Regions from separate parts of the Homo sapiens genome. Here regions 2 and 3 are each linked to region 1. The links are contacts of gene promoters, found by promoter capture Hi-C in human tissues and cell types (Jung and others, 2019). All regions are on one chromosome and are shown on one strand. Each heading gives the region's core, a stretch centred on a gene start or on the middle of the fragment in contact. The rest is flanking DNA. Distances are from core to core; before and after follow the strand shown. Region 1 holds the start of CCDC134 (coiled-coil domain containing 134). Region 2 overlaps POLDIP3 (DNA polymerase delta interacting protein 3). Region 3 has its middle 5.4 kb from the start of LINC01315.

What was found. The method cuts DNA at HindIII sites, captures the fragments that hold promoters and counts their contacts. A contact is called where the count stands out against the background at its distance.
Region 2: a fragment that was not itself captured here is called in contact with the fragment with the promoter of CCDC134 in region 1 in 1 of the 25 tissues and cell types used here (dorsolateral prefrontal cortex).
Region 3: a fragment that was not itself captured here is called in contact with the fragment with the promoter of CCDC134 in region 1 in 1 of the 25 tissues and cell types used here (mesenchymal stem cells).

Annotation. Positions count from the first base shown.
Region 1 is chr22:41,798,471-41,803,497 of GRCh38, forward strand. It overlaps CCDC134 (coiled-coil domain containing 134), which reads left to right and starts at 2,209. Exons shown (of 7, transcript NM_024821.5): 1 at 2,209-2,296. MEI1 (meiotic double-stranded break formation protein 1) reads left to right here. Exons shown (of 31, transcript NM_152513.4): 31 at 784-984. The coding sequence ends at 829. RefSeq lists enhancers at 1,030-2,016, 1,792-1,871, 1,942-2,021 and silencers at 1,492-1,581, 2,172-2,231. The HindIII fragment of the contact is 18,239 bases long and covers 275-5,027 here.
Region 2 is chr22:42,597,245-42,602,271 of GRCh38, forward strand. It overlaps POLDIP3 (DNA polymerase delta interacting protein 3), which reads right to left. Exons shown (of 9, transcript NM_032311.5): 3 at 4,726-4,812; 4 at 2,454-2,549. Among named protein-coding and RNA genes, the nearest start is that of POLDIP3, 15 kb to the right of the region's middle. RefSeq lists an enhancer at 4,959-5,027. The HindIII fragment of the contact is 3,012 bases long and covers 707-3,718 here.
Region 3 is chr22:42,372,047-42,377,073 of GRCh38, forward strand. No RefSeq gene overlaps it. Among named protein-coding and RNA genes, the nearest start is that of LINC01315, 5.4 kb to the left of the region's middle. The HindIII fragment of the contact is 4,774 bases long and covers 1-4,758 here.

The DNA of each region.
Region 1 (5,027 bases), core at 959-3,458:
AGGAGGCTGAGGCAGGAGAATCACTGGAACCTGGGAGGCAGAGGCTGCAGTGAGCCAAGATCGCGCCACTGTACTCCAGCCTGGGCAACAGACCAAGACTCCGTCTCAAAAAAAAAGAAAGCTTGGGGGCCGGGCGCAGTGGCTCACACTGTAATCCCAGCCAAGGTGAGTGGATCACTTGAGGTCAGGAGTTCTGAGACGAGCCTGGCCTACATGGTAAAACCCCATCTCTACTAAAAATACAAAAATTAGCCGGGCATGGTGGTGCATGCCTGTAATCCAAGCTACTTGGGAGGATGAGGCAGGACAATCACTTGAACCTGGGAGGTGGAGATTGCAGTGACCAGAGAGCCGAGATTGTGCCACTGCACACTCCAGCCTGGGTGGCAGAGTGAGACTATGTCTCAAAAAAAAAAAAAAAAAGCAAGCTTGGGGCTGTGGCAGTGGTCAGAGACCCTCTGGTAGGTGGCTGGTTGCACCCAGAGACACTGCAGTCCAGAGATACTGCAGTCCAGAGGTGTGTGTGAGGGTAGTTTGCTTCCTCTGCACCCCTCTGGCTGCCTCCCTGGCTCTCTTCCTTGCCCCTTCCGTGCAATAGTTCCCTGTTGAATAGCAACTACCTAGCCCAGGTGTTCAGGACCCAATTTCAGAATCCATCCCACTATTCTCAGGAGCACTTCTGTTCTTGCCTGACCATTCTTGACTGTTTTGGGCTCTGGAAGTGTGATGCCCCCATGGTTGGCCCCACTTCTCTGCTGTTTTCCTCTCATGTTTTGCTGCCAGCTGCCTGGGAGGGGTGGCTGTATCCCTGTCCCACATCAGAAACTGATCCTCAGGACTTGAAGGCCCAGAAGTGGAGAGAGAATGAGACCTGGAGACAAAGGGCATAATTGTTGGGGAAATGGATGACAGCTGAAGCTATTCATATGGAGCCATATACTCTATTGTTGAAATAGAATAAGGAAATAAAATGATACACTCACATACCTGCGCGAGCTCTCCAAAAACACTGTACTACCTTGTCTACCAGGAGCTGGTTTCTCAGCCAGTTGGATAAGGGATTGTTTCAGCAAGGAGACTGATGGCCTCCTCAGGGAAGGAGGGACGGGACAGGATTTGTTCTTGTAACAGCATTCAAGGAGTCAGCTGGGTGCCTCAGCTGTACTCAGAGAACACCAGTCAGGCCATCCTGGGGCTGGCAGGGCAGAGAAAGGCCTAGGGGTTGGGGCTGCTGCGATTCAACAGCTCCCAGAGGCACTTGACCTGCTCCCTCGCCTCACGTGGAGGTGGATAGAGGTAAACTTTCCAGGCAAGGAGGGTCAAATTCTCAGCTTTCCTATCAGAACGAAACTGTCCCAGCCTCAGCCCTTGTCTGGCTAAAGTAGGTCACCTCTGTCCCTTCCCGTACAGCCGTCATCAGAACTGGTGTTTATGCACCCTCGTGGGTAGATCCTGGGAATGCATGTCCAGCTTGGTCCCCGGCATGAGGTCTGCGCTCGACAGTGCCTGCCCTGCGCCTGTTCTGGGGAGCTCAGCCCAGACCGGGCCTCCAGCTCCCTTCCCGCCCGGCAGGGGCCCCGGGCCCGGAGATGGCCACGCCACGCTGCCTTCTCGGGTCTGACTGTCCTGATCCTGCGCAAAAGTGGGGCTGCACTCGGCCTAACGAACGGACGAGGAAGCCCCCGCCGCACTTGGCTTATTAGTTGGTGGACCGGAGGGGCAAGGAGGGGATGCCCGAATCCTGCACTGAGTCTCTGAGGTCCTTAAAGAAGAACAAAAGTGCTAGTCACCGCCCACTAAACTCACGTTGCGATCTAAAGTTTAAAAACTCGGCCACAGACGACGACACAGTTTCAGGGAGGGCGCGCAGAAGGTCGCCCGGCCGACAGGAGCTGGGACCCCAGTTTGCTGATTCACGCCTTAAATTGGGCACAGACCCCACCCACAGATTTAACTTCCTCCAACACAAGCTAAATCCAGGGCCACGTACCCAGGGCCCGCAGGAGGGACAGGACGAGGATGGTGCCCACAGCGCGCTGGAGGCACGCCAGAGCCTGGAGGGGCAGGCAGGGGCGGTGGAGCGGGGCCGGAAGTGAGGCTAGCGGAGCCCCGCAGTGGCGGCTCGCGCTCATTGGCCGGGAGCAGCGCGGTGGGCGGGACGGAGCTCGGCGGTCTGCGCTCGGTTGCTAGCCGTTTGCTCCCGCTTTCAGTTGCTTTGCTGTTAGCCTGTTGGACCTTCGAGCCTAGCTGCTCGCACAGGACTCGGCCACCTGCCCTTCCTGCACCGACTGGCCAGGTAGGTGGCTGTAGGGGCCGCGGGCTGCAGGTTCCCGGGAAGGATAATGAGAGAACCGAGGGCCTCGAACCGGCTGCAGGTGGTGGGGAGGGAGTTTCGTGGACCTGGACGCCTCTGTTCCTTGAGAAGGCTCGCTCCCTCCTCCGGGAGCTCCGAAGGCTCGGGGTCAACCACCTGGGCCCCCGACCCCGGTAGCTGGCTCAAGGCCCGCCACTACCTGGTACCTCTGCAGGAGTTCAGAGCCTCATGCTGAGCCAGGAGGAGCTCCGGGTGACGCATACGGCAGGATCGGGATTGAGAGGCTGAAAAAGTGAGTTTAACAGTAGAGAAAGCAGGACCTGTCCCGCAGGCTGCTGTTCTGGCTTTTCTTTCCCACTACCTGCTTCAGTCATTGCCAGCTGTCTGGTATTCTCCTTGGCCCCTAAAGTTTTGCCCTAGCCTGGTTCTGGTTCCCTTGAGTTTGGAGCAGGAGGTGGAATGTGGAGGGTCCTGGGTGAACTTGGACTATTCCTTCTCTAGGTTTCACTTATCTCGTCTGCTTGGGGGTAGGGGGTTCTCCGGATGATCTCTGCAGCCCCTCACTGTCTGTAACTGAGCATCTCTCCCCTGGGGCAGGTGTCCTGGTAGTTCAGTAGCCAGCTCTGATCTCAGGTAGCCTGTGCTCATTTACAAAGAGTCAGAAGACAGAGCACTGGACTTAGAGCCAAACAGACACTTGGTTCAGCCTGGGAATAGCTGTGTGACTTTGGGCAGTCACCTCATTTTTCTGTGCCTTGATTTCACATTGGTAACATTGGGGAGTTGTAATCTGAGTGTGAGACCTCTCCTGACCACTTTATGTAATCTTGTACCTGACCGACACCCTCTCATCCCTCTGTGCTTATTTTACAAGTTTATTGATCAACTCTTATCCCTACTAGAGACAAGTACCATGAGTGCAGAGATTTTTGCTTATTTATTGCTGTATTCCCGCCTCTAGAACAGTGCCTAGAGTGTGGTAGGTACTGTCAACCTAAATAGCAGAGTGAGAGACTCTAAAAAAATGATGTTTACTTGGGAATAGACATTGTAGTGACAATATGTGTGCCATAGTAACCTGTGTACGTATTTGGGGAGGTAAAGGAAGACAAAGGTTTTGAAAAGGAAAAATGAGGATTACATGATTATTTTGAGATAGTTATCCTTGGCTACAAGGATGAATAGCAAGAGTGGTGCTAGTCTGAGGTTGGACAGGCAGTTGCAGGGCAGATGTCCTCACAGAAAGATTTTTCTGTGTAAGTTTGCAGTGGCCTTTGTGCAGGGTTGTGGTTTTTGCATTTTTTGTGATCTTGTTATCAGTCATTTGTGCATAAGAACCCTCTTTTCACAACCTTCCTCGGTTTTATTTGTCAGAGTTGTTGTTCTTGTTTTTTCCCATTGGAGAATCATGCTTTAAATTTGTCAGAGTTTTTAACACAAACGACTCTGTTTTGATTCTAACAACTTTCATATTTCCCCCTTTTGGTCAAGATCTTTCTCCAAAAACTTTACTGATCAGTCATCCTGTAGTTAGGTCCCTCAGTGCTGGGACGGACCTATCTTGGGTTGTTGGTCTCTTGCCATGTTGGAGACTAGGAGTCTCCAGTTGGAGACTGGTGACTAGGAGTCAGTGTCAAAACCCTTGTAGTGGTTGGGAGCAGGGGCTCACGTCTGTAATCCCAGTACTTTGGGAGGTCAAGGAGGGAGTATCACTTGAGTCCAGAAGTTCAAGACCAGCCTGGGCAACCGCCAAGGCGGGCGGATCACCTGAGGTTGAGAGTTCGAGACCAGCCTGACCAACATGAAGAAACCCGTCTCTACTAAAATACAAAAATATATATAAATAACATCCGGGCGCGGTGGCTCACACCTGTAATCCCAGCGCTTTGGGAGGCCGAGGCAGGCGGATCATGAGGTGAGGAGATCGAGACCATCCTGGCTAACACGGTGAAACCCCATCTCAACTAAAAATACAAAAAATTAGCCGGGCGTGGTGGCAGGTGCCTGTAGTCCCAGCTACTTGGGAGGCTGAGGCAGGAGAATGGCGTGAACCCAGGAGGCAGAGCTTGCAGTGAACCGAGATCGCACCACTGCACTCCAGCCTGGGCGACAGAGCAAGACTCTGTCTCAAAAAAATAAAAAATAAAAAAATAAAAAATAAATAAAATAAAATACAAAAATTAGCCGGGCGTGGTGGCACATGCCTGTAATCCCAGCTACTAGGGAGGCTGAGGCAGGAGAATCGCTTGAACCTGGGAAGTGGAGGTTGCGGTGAGCCGAGATCGCACCATTGCACTCCAGCCTGGGCAACAAGAGCGAAACTCCGTCTCAAAAAAAAAAAGTTATCTGGGCATTGGTTGGGGAGTGTGCGGGAGTCAGTTGGGTAGAGGATCACTTAAGCCCAGGAGTTTCAGGTTATAGGGAGCTATGATTGTACCGCTGCACTCCAGCGTGGGTGACAGAGCGAGACCCTGCCTCAAAAAACCCCAAATACCTTTTAGCCACATTTGAGCAGCAAGGGAGGTTTGGAAGGAGTGGCTCTCAAGGTATGTCTACCTGGAGTTCATTGTTAAGTTCAATTTTGGCTGTTCCATAGGCATTTGCTGTCATTGCAAACTTCTGGGCCAGCATTATTCTGTCAGGAGTGATACTTCAACAAAAATTTAAAAAGTAATAGGTATAAAGTTTAAAAAGAAAATAGGGCTGGGCACGA
Region 2 (5,027 bases), core at 963-3,462, 800 kb after region 1:
CCCTGCTGATTTAGGGCAGTGTTTACAGGCACTGACCCAGGGCAGGGAGAAAGGAGGAACGCAGCGGCCAGAGAGGCACATCAGAGCATGGGCACGGGCAATTCACCACGCTCCTCCAAGTCTGGGTGAAGCAGCGTCATCCCCATGCTGAATTCCACATTCCTCATGTGGAATTCTGCGTCTCCAGAGCTGGGACAGCACAGTGACTCCACACAGGGCCCTGAGAGCGAGACTGCTCGGGCTCCATTCCTAGATCCACTGCTTCTCATCAGCTGGGTGATGTTGAACAGGCTTATTTCACCTCTCCATGCCTGTCCCTCATCCATCAACGAGGGTAATCAACAGTACCCATCTCACAGGGTACAAGACGCATGAGTATAAATATGGCATTTATTCAATTAGGGTATCAAATAGGGATAGAGACTCACTGAGCAAGCTGATAGTTCCCTTGATAGCAGACTTGAGCAGTCTAATTACTGGAAAGGCCTGGTCCCTTTGTAAAGAAACAAACTGGCATCATTCAGCTTCACGACCTCTTTTTTTTTTTTTTTTTTGAGACGGAGTCTCGCCCTGTCACCCAGGCTGGAGTGCAGTGGCGCAATCTTGGCTCACTGCAACCTCCACCTCGGGGTTCAAACAATTCTCCTGCCTCAGCCTCCCGAGCAGCTGGGATTACAGGCACGCGCCATCATGCCCAGCTAATTTTTTATTTTTAGTAGAGACGGGATTTCACCATGTTGCCAAGCTGGTCTCCAACTCCTGACCTCAGGTAATCTGCCCACCTCAGCCTCCCAAAGTGCTGGGATTACAGGCGTGAGCCACCACGCCGAGCCAGCTTCATGTTTCTTTTTTTTTTGAGACAGAGTCTCACTCTGTCGCCCAGGCTGGAGTGCAGTGGCACAATCTCGGCTCACTGTAAGCTCTGCCTCCCAGGTTCACACCATTCTCCTGCCTCAGCCTCCCGAGTAGCTGGGACTGCAGGTGCCCGCCACCACACCCCGGATATTTTTTTTTTTTTTTTTTTTGAGACAGAGTCTCGCTCTGTCGCCCAGGCTGGAGTGCAGTGGCGCCTCTTGGCTCACTGCAAGCTCCACCTCCTGGGTTCGTGCCATTCTCCTGCCTCAGCCTCTAGAGTAGCTGGGACTACAGGCGCACACCACCACGCCTGGCTAATTTTTTGGTATTTTTAGTAGAGACGGGGTTTCACCATGTTTGCCAGGATGGTCTCGATCTCCTGACTTCGTGATCCACCCACCTCGGCCTCCGAAAGTGCTGGGATTACAGGCGTGAGCCACCACGCCCGAACTTTTTTGTATTTTTTAGTAGAGACGTGGTTTCACCGTGCTAGCCAGGATGGTTTCCATCTCCTGACCTTGTGATCTGCCCGCCTCTGCCTCCCAAAGTGTTGAGATTACAGGCGTGAGCCACCGCACCTGGCCCATATTTCTCTTAATTACTAACCAGGAGGCTGGTCCACATACTCAGGACAGTAACCAAAACTGAGTCTTTGAGCGTCTGAAGGAAAAACAAAAGAGGTGGCTGCCACAAGGACCCACCTAGGCAGCCCACTGGCCTCCCTGTCTGACACTTGGCTGTACCACTGAGCTGAGCAGCATGGACCTCCCTGATGATCCCAGATGTTGTTTTCTTTCCTTCTCTGCATGATGTCTGACCAACACTCTAGCCTAGCAAGCTTTCCCTGCATGCAGGCTGCACCTGGTAGAGCCCACAGATCAGGTGAGATGTATTCCTGCTAATGTTAACCAACGGAATCCAGACTCCAAGAGCAGCGCCAGAGCTGCTGACCACAAAGGGTTACGAAGCATGCAGAATGGCCAGCCACCAAGGAAAGAACACAGACTCCCCACTGTGGGATCACTCACACTTTCCCTATAGTGTCTCAAACACAGCACCTAGGAGCTGCAGCCCTGTACTTCACTTGCTGTGGGACCTTGAACAAATCAGAAGGCACCCCAGTGTCTCAGCGTTTATAAAACTAAGGGAATGGACTAGTTCCAGCTCTGAAAATCTTACGGCCCAAACAAAGAAATATTTCTGCATTGAAAGGCTCTATTCACGCCGGGCGCAGTGGCTTACGCCTGTAATCCCAGCACCTTGGGAGGCCGAGGCGTGCGGATCACCTGAGGTCAGGAGTTTGAGACCAGCCTGGCCAACATGGTGAAACCTCATCTCTACTAAAAATACAAAAATTAGCTGGGCGTGGCGGCAGGCGCCTGTAATCCCAGCTACTAGGGAGGCTGAGGCAGGATAATAGCTTGAACCCAGGAGACGGAGGTTGCAGTGAGCCAAGATTGCGCCATTGCACTCCAGCAGCCTGGGGGAGAAGAGCGAGATGTCGTCTCAAAACAAAAAAAACAACAGGTTCTATTCAACACGACCTCTCCCACCTGCCTGATCAGACACGCAGTGTAAGAAAACATGAAATGCCATACCATGTGGTGGAGAAAGCCGCCTGAGGCTGCAAACTTCATCTGTTTAGTAGGAACGGAAGCTATACCATCATCATCTTCATCCAGGTCATATAAATTCTGAGAATATAACATAAAGAAATATAAGCAAATGTGGCATCTGGGCCCTCAACAGACATCTAGAACAGGCATGGCAAGGAAATGGCTGCTGGAGAAACAAAGGGACCAAGGAGAAGTGGGCACAGGGGTGACGGTGCCTGGAAAGACTGGGGCCCAAGTCTTCACAGGCTAACTCCCTGTCAGCAAGGACCCAGTGAAAGTCCTACAACTTCCAGATACATCAGAAGTCCCTTTTTCCCAGTGGGCAGTATGTACCAAGAGTCCCTAAAATGTTTCTTTATATCCTTTGGCTTGGAAAGTCCATCCTTGTTAATATGACCTACAGAAATAAATCCAAACCCTAGAAAGAGCTTTATTTACAAAGATGTTCACAGCAGAAGGATTTCTAACAGTGAAAATGACAGGAAAATGGTTTAAATAAAACTGGAATGCCAACTATATAGATTTTGCAGTTACTAAAACATGTACAGTAAATATGAAATGTCACAGAGAAATGCTTGAGTTACAAAGTGAAAAAAGAATGATACAAAATTGGATAAGAATATAACCATGGCTGGGCTCAGTGGCTCAAGCCTGTCATCCCAGCACTTTGGGAGGCCGAGGAGGGCGGATCACGAGGTCAGGAGATCGAGATCATCCTGGCTAACATGGTGAAACCCCGTCTCTACGAAAAATACAAACAATGAGCCGGGCATGGTGGCATGCGCCTGTAGTCCCAGCTACTCGGGAGGCTGAGGCAGGAGAATGGTGTGAACCCGGGAGGCGGAGCTTGCAGTGAGCCGAGATCGTGCCACTGCACTCCAGTCTGAGTGACAGAGCGAGACTCGGTCTCAAAAAAAAAAAAAGAATATATAACCACAACCACAACTATGAGTTAAGTAAAAAACAGACTGGGGCTGGGCACAGTGGCTCACGCCTGTAATCCCAGCACTTTGGGAGGCCAAGGTGGGCGAATTACCTGAGGTCAGGAGTTCGAGATCAGCCTGACCAACATGGAGAAACACCGTCTCTACTAAAAATACAAAATTAGCCAGGCGCGGTGACTCATGCTTGTAATCCCAGCTACTTGGGAGGCAGAGGCAGGAGGATCGATTGAACCCAGGAGTTCGAGACCAGCCTGGGCAACATGACAAGACTCCATCTCTACAAAAATTAGCCAGATGTGGTGGTATGCACCTGTGATCCCAGCTACTCAGGAGGCTGAGGTGGGAGGATCATTTGAGCCCAGAAACTCAAGGCTGCAGTGAGCCATGACTGCACCACTGCACTCCAGCCTGGGGGACAGAGTGAAACCCTGTATCAAAAAAAAAGAAGCGTACATGTAAGGAACTATGGCAAAATTTCAACAGTGACTGGCTTTGGAGAATAGGAACTTGAGGGACTTTTTGGCAAGTTTTCTATATTAAGCACATAGAACTTTTATTTAAAAAAATTAGGCCGGGCGCGGTGGCTCACACCTGTAATCCCAGCTCTCAGGGAGGCTAAGAGGCGGGAGGATAGCTTGAGCCCAGGAGTTCGAGACCTGCCTGGGCAATATAGCGAGACCCCGTTCTCCAGAAAAAGGAAAAAAAAACAAAACAAAAGACAAAAAAAAAAAAAGCGTAAAAAAATTAAAAAAAACAAACAAAACTTTTTTTAGCCTCTCTGCCCCCTATGCCTCCCTTCCTCTATTAAGAAGTTTCTTCTTGGCTGGGTGTGGTGGCTCACGCCTGTAATCCCAGCACTTTGGGAGGCTGAGGCGGGGGGATCACAAGGTCAAGAAATTGAGACCATCCTAGCCAACATGGTGAAACCCCATCTCTACTAAAAATACAAAAATTAGCTGGGTGTGGTGGTACGCGCCTGTAGTCCCAGATACTCAGGAGGCTGAGGCAGGAGAATCACTTGAACCCGGGAGGCAGAGGTTGCAGTGAGCCGAGATTACGCCACTGCACTCCAGCCTAGCGACAGAGCGAGACTCCGTCTCAAAAAATAAAAAAATAAAAAAAATTTCTTCTTTAAACTCAAATTGCAAAAAGTTCGCTGTAACCCTGCCTCCAATACTACCAACTGGGAACTACCAACTGAGCAAGCCTCAGTCCATCCACCCAAGTAGGCCTCATCAAAACACGTGCACACCTACATGTTCGCTATGTACACACAGATTCTCTCTCTCTCTCTCACTCACTCACTCTACCTGTTTGGCCTGGTGGTTATTGACAACATTGATTCTCATTCCGGCAGGATGGGGATGAAGTGGTGCCATGGCTTTCTGCTGTGGAACCTGGAAACACTCAGTGGTCAGAATCCACCCCACAGGGTCCACATGCATTCTCTAGAAGAAGGGGGTTACTGAACTTGATACATGGTGGGCATGCAGCTTTGGTCTTTGGTAAAAGGCACTACAGAGGGCCTTATCCTCCACAGTAGGAAGTAACAGAAGAATCATCAATCCAGAGACCATGCCGGTAACGCACATGTAGGGCTTAATGGACTTGG
Region 3 (5,027 bases), core at 1,122-3,621, 570 kb after region 1:
AGTAGTGCAATGTTGGTCCACTGCAACCTCCACCTCCCAGGTTCAAGTGATTCTCCTGCTTCAGCCTCCCAAGTAGCTGGGACTACAGGTGCATGCCCCCATGCCCCACCAATTTTTTTTTTTTTAGACAGAGTCTCACTCTGCTGCCAGGCTGGAGTGCAGTGGCACGATCTCCGCTCACTGCAACCTCCGCCTCCTGGGTTCAAGCAATTCTCCTGCCTCAGCCTCCCTAGTAGCTGAGACTACAGGCATGCACCACCACACCCAGCTCATTTTTGTATTTTTAGTAGAGACAGGGTTTCACTATGTTGGCCAGGCTGGTCTCGAGCTCCTGACCTCAGGTGATCCTCCCTCCTCAGCCTCCCAAAGTGCTGGGACCACAGGCATGAGCCACTGTGCCCATCCGAAGCACCCTCTTTCTAGAGGTGCACCTGTTGGCTGCGCACAGTGGCTCACACCTGTAATCCCAGCGCTCTGGGAGGCCGATGTGGGTGGATCACCTGAGCTCAGGAGTTCGAGACCAGCCTGGCCAACATGGTGAAACCCTGTCTCTACTAAAAATACAAAAATTAGCTGGGTATGGTGGCACGCACCTGTAGTCCCAGCTACTTGAGAGGCTGAGGCAAGAGAATCGCTTGAACCTGGGAGGCTGCGGTTGCAGTGAGCCAAGATTGCACCATTGCACTCCAGCCCAGGCGACAGACAGAGACTCCATCTCAAAAAAAAAAAAAAAAAAAATAGTGGGTGCTTCAATCATAGCTGCACATAGCTGCAATATTTCATTTGACAGAGTCAGATGGGGGACTTAGATGCTTAAGCTTATCTCTGTACTTTTCCATGTCTTCGAAATATTTCATTAACATCCACACACACACAAAAATGGCAGGGGAGAGGTTAAGTGTTTCTAAATTCTAGTTTGGGATTTATAAATGGCTTCAAATACCAGTGTGCCTTACTTTACACAGTGGAGAGGGTCTTAAAATTCTGCGTCAATTGAATCCCGTTGGCCTACCCAGTAAATCTTAACGCCTCTGATGCTCTAGCTTCATTTCTGATTGATTTTCCCTGGCAGAGGTACCAAATTCTTTGCTTTAAGTGTCAGGCTCTCTCTGTCAAGTAGTTAATGACCTATAAAGCACTTAAAACGTACTGGAGGAGATGCGATTTGGAGGCACCCTGCAGTGTATCCTCTCTTATTGTCGGTAATCACCCCTCATTTATTTGCTCTTATTGGTTTGGAATTTGCTATCAGGTTTTCCTAAAGCCAAGCCCACCAGGAATGGTCCAATTCTATGTGGGCCCAGATGGGTGCCGGGATTGGAACCTAGGGGCAGTGGGCAGCCAGTGTGGCCTCTTTCCTCACGAGCCCTTCGGCTTGGGTGCCCTGGTCATCTCATGGCCACACATTCAGCGGCTCTGCCTCTTGCCAGCTGAGTGATCTTGAGCATTCAGTGCCCCCCTCCAAGCCTCACTTTCCTCTTCCACACTGCCCCAGAGCTGGTGCCTGCCCCTGAACAACTGGAAGATGACTCCAGCCTGGTGAAGTCAGTGCTGGGAGCCGTAGAAGAGGCCCAAGGTCAGGGTGAGCATGGAGGTCATGACCGAGGCAAGCTCCAGGGTCAGAGGTCATAGGAAGCATCCCCAAGGAGCACAAAACAGGGTGGGCCACTGACCTCGGGGCAGAAGAGCCTCTCAGAGAGGGGCCCAGCCTGGGAGGCAGAATAGGCTCTTCTAGGAGGGAAAGTGTCTTCATTTTCTTTTCTTTTTTTTTCCTTGAGACGGAGTCTTGCTCTGTCGCCCAGGCTGGAGTGCAATGGCGCAATCTTGGCTCATTGCAACCGCCATCTCCCAGGTTCAAGCGATTCTCCTGCCTCAGCCTCCTGAGTACTGGGACTACAGGCATGCACCACTACACCCAGCTAATTTTTCTATTTTTAGTAGAGACAGGTTTCGCCATGTTGGCCAGGCTGGTCTCAAACTCCTGACTTCAGGTGATCCACCTGCCCTCAGCCTCCCAAAGTGCTGGGATTACAGGCGTGAGCCTGGCCAGTGTCTTCATTTTCTATGGCTGCTGTAACTAATCACCACAAACCTGGTGACTTAAAACAACACACGTTATCCCTATTGAAAAGCCGGGAGAAAAAAGAAAGAAAAAAATTATTTTTTAAAAACCCACAACACGACACACATTTATTTTCTTACAGTTCTCAAGACCGGAAATTCAGAATCAGTTTCAACAGGCAGAAACCAGGGTGTTCACAGGGCCACGTTCCCTCCAGAAGCTTTGAGGAGTATCCGTTTCCTTGCCCTCTCCTGCTTCTGGGGCTCTGTTCCCCGGCTGTGGCCTCTTCTTCCATGTTCAAAACCAGCGGCGTACCATCTTCAGACCTCTTTCTCTGCTTCCATCATCACACCACCTTCTGCCTTTGGTCTGTAATCTCCCTCTGCATCCCCCTTTATAAGGGCGTTTGTGATTGTAATGATCCAGGATAACCTCCTCATCTCCAGATCCTTAATCACATCTGCGGCGCCTTTGTCATATAAGGTAACATTCACAGGTTCCAGGATTAGGATGTGGATATCTTGGCGAGGGTGGGATTCTTCAGGCTACCACAGAAAGCCACCAACCAAAGTGGTTCAGATCATGGATTCTGAAGCCACTGCTGGGGCCTGAATCTCAACTGCACCATCTGCCAGCTAGGTGACTTTGGGCGAGTTGTTATATCTTTTTAAGGCTCAGTTTCCTCATCTGTGAAATGAGATCAATGCCTACTTATTGCCACAGATAAAAACTGAATAGGCATTTAACCATCTGACAGGTAGAGGGAGTTTCATGCGCCAGAGCCTGGACCTTGAAAGAGGCCCCAGCAGGGCCCTTCTGTAGGAGGAAAGGAGGAAGGGCAGGAAAGGGTACGGGCAGGGCAGGCTGGGTGGAGGAAGAAGCTGAACCACGTCCCAGGGAAGTGTGTGTGTGCTCTGTCCTAAGGGTAATGAACAGGGGACAACAGAAAGTGTTTAAGTAGGGCAATTTTTTTTGGTTTATTTTTGTTTTGTGTTATTGAAATGCAATTCACATATTATAAATTTACCCTTTTAAAGTGTACAATTCAATGGATTTTAGCATATTCAAGAGGTTGCGTAACCATCACTGCTGTCGCATTCCAGAACATTTCCATTACCTCATAAAAAATCCCCATACCCATTAGCAGTTCTTTTTTTTTTTTTTTTTTTTGAGACAGAGTCTTGCTCTGTCGCCCAGGCTGGAGTGCAATGGCGCTATCTCGGCTCACTGCAAGCTCTGTCTCCCGGGTTCACGCCACTCTCCTGCCTCAGCCTCCCAAGTAGCTGGAACTACACGGACCCGTCACCACGCCCGGCTAATTTTTTGTATTTTTAGTAGAGGTGGGGTTTCACCGTGTTAGCCAGGATGGTCTCGATCTCCTGACCTCATGATCCGCCCACCTTGGCCTCCCAAAGTGCTGATTACAGGTGTGAGCCACCGTGCCCGGCCAGCAGTTCTTTTTTTTTTTTTTTTTTTTTGAGACAGAGTCTCACTCTGTCGCCCAGGCTGGAGGGCAGTGGCACCCTGTCGGCTCACTGCAACCTCAGTCTCCTGGGTTCAAGCAATTCTCCTGCCTCAGCCTCCTGAGTAGCTGGGATTATAGGCGCCCACCATCACGCCCAGCTAATTTTTATATTTTTAGTAGAGATATGGTTTCACCATGTTGGCCAGGCTGGTCTCGAACTCCTGACCTCGATGATCCACCTGCCTTGGCCTCCCAAAGTGCTAGGATTACAGGCGTGAGCCACCGTGCCCGGCTGTCTGGATAATTTTTGTATTTTTAGTTGCGATAGGGTTTCACCCATGTTGGCCAGGCGTGGGCCACTGCGCCTGGCCCCCATTAGCAGTTCTAAAGCTCTCTGCAACCTTGAACTCCAATCTTGAGCTCCAGGCTTGAACCCAGGAAGAAGGCAGGGGTGCCTTGAGCACCACAATGACCATCTCTATTTCTGGAACTGGTCACTTGGCTGTGGGTCCTACCCTTATCCCTGGGACTCAGCTGCACAGACTTGTCCCAATGGGTCAGGAAGGACAGCAGCTCTCCTGACTCCACCCCCGTCACATGACATGCCAGGGTTCCCCACCCATAAGGGGCAGGAGATTGTGGGGCTGCTGGAGGAAGTTGTGGGGGCATTTGAGGCTGAGTGCTGGCTAAGCAGCAATGGCTTATGCCGGTAATCCCAGCATTTGGGAGGCCAAGGTGGCAGGATCGCTTGAGCTCAGGAGTTTGAGACCAGCCTGGGCAACACGGCAAAACCCGGTCTCTATGAAAAATACAAAAAATTAGCCAGGTGTGATGGTGCGCACCTGTAGTGCCAGCTACTCCGGAGGCTGAGGTAGAGGACCGCTGGAGCACAGAGGTTGAGGCTGCAGTGAGCTGTGATCGCACCACTGCACTCCAGCCTGGATGACAGAGTGAGACCCTGTCTCAAAAAAAAAAAAAAAAAAAAAAAACCAAACCGAAAACACATTAAAATTTTTCTTTTTGGAAAACCATCCAATCAGCCAGAGAGACACAGAAAAAAAGGAGCTTCTCCAGTGCTCCCCACACACCCCCGCCACCACCCCTGGCCGGGCTCTGTTCTGCTGGCTACTTGGGGGAGTCTCAGGCCCTGAATGATCAGGGACATGTGGCCTGGCCTAGAGGCAGCTGAGGCAGGAGGGAGGCCATCTGGTGAGGCGAGAGGTAGCGGTCAGGACATTGCTGAGTCCGCTGAGGCATCCCCTGGCAGTCACAAGGGCTTCTGGGATCAATTAGCAGAACCACCCTAACAGGGCTCATGGCCCCTGACGCAGGCACGTGTCCTCAGAGCCTCTTGACAGCCTTGGCAGCCAGGAATTGAAAGGAGGTGGGGGAGGGGGATGTCGGCCTTTCCCCTGTGCCTGGCCTCGCCTCCAACAGCTCAGCACAGAGCCTCCCCGCCCTCCCCATTAGGCGGAGGCTGCCGGCCTTCCAGAGCCTGCA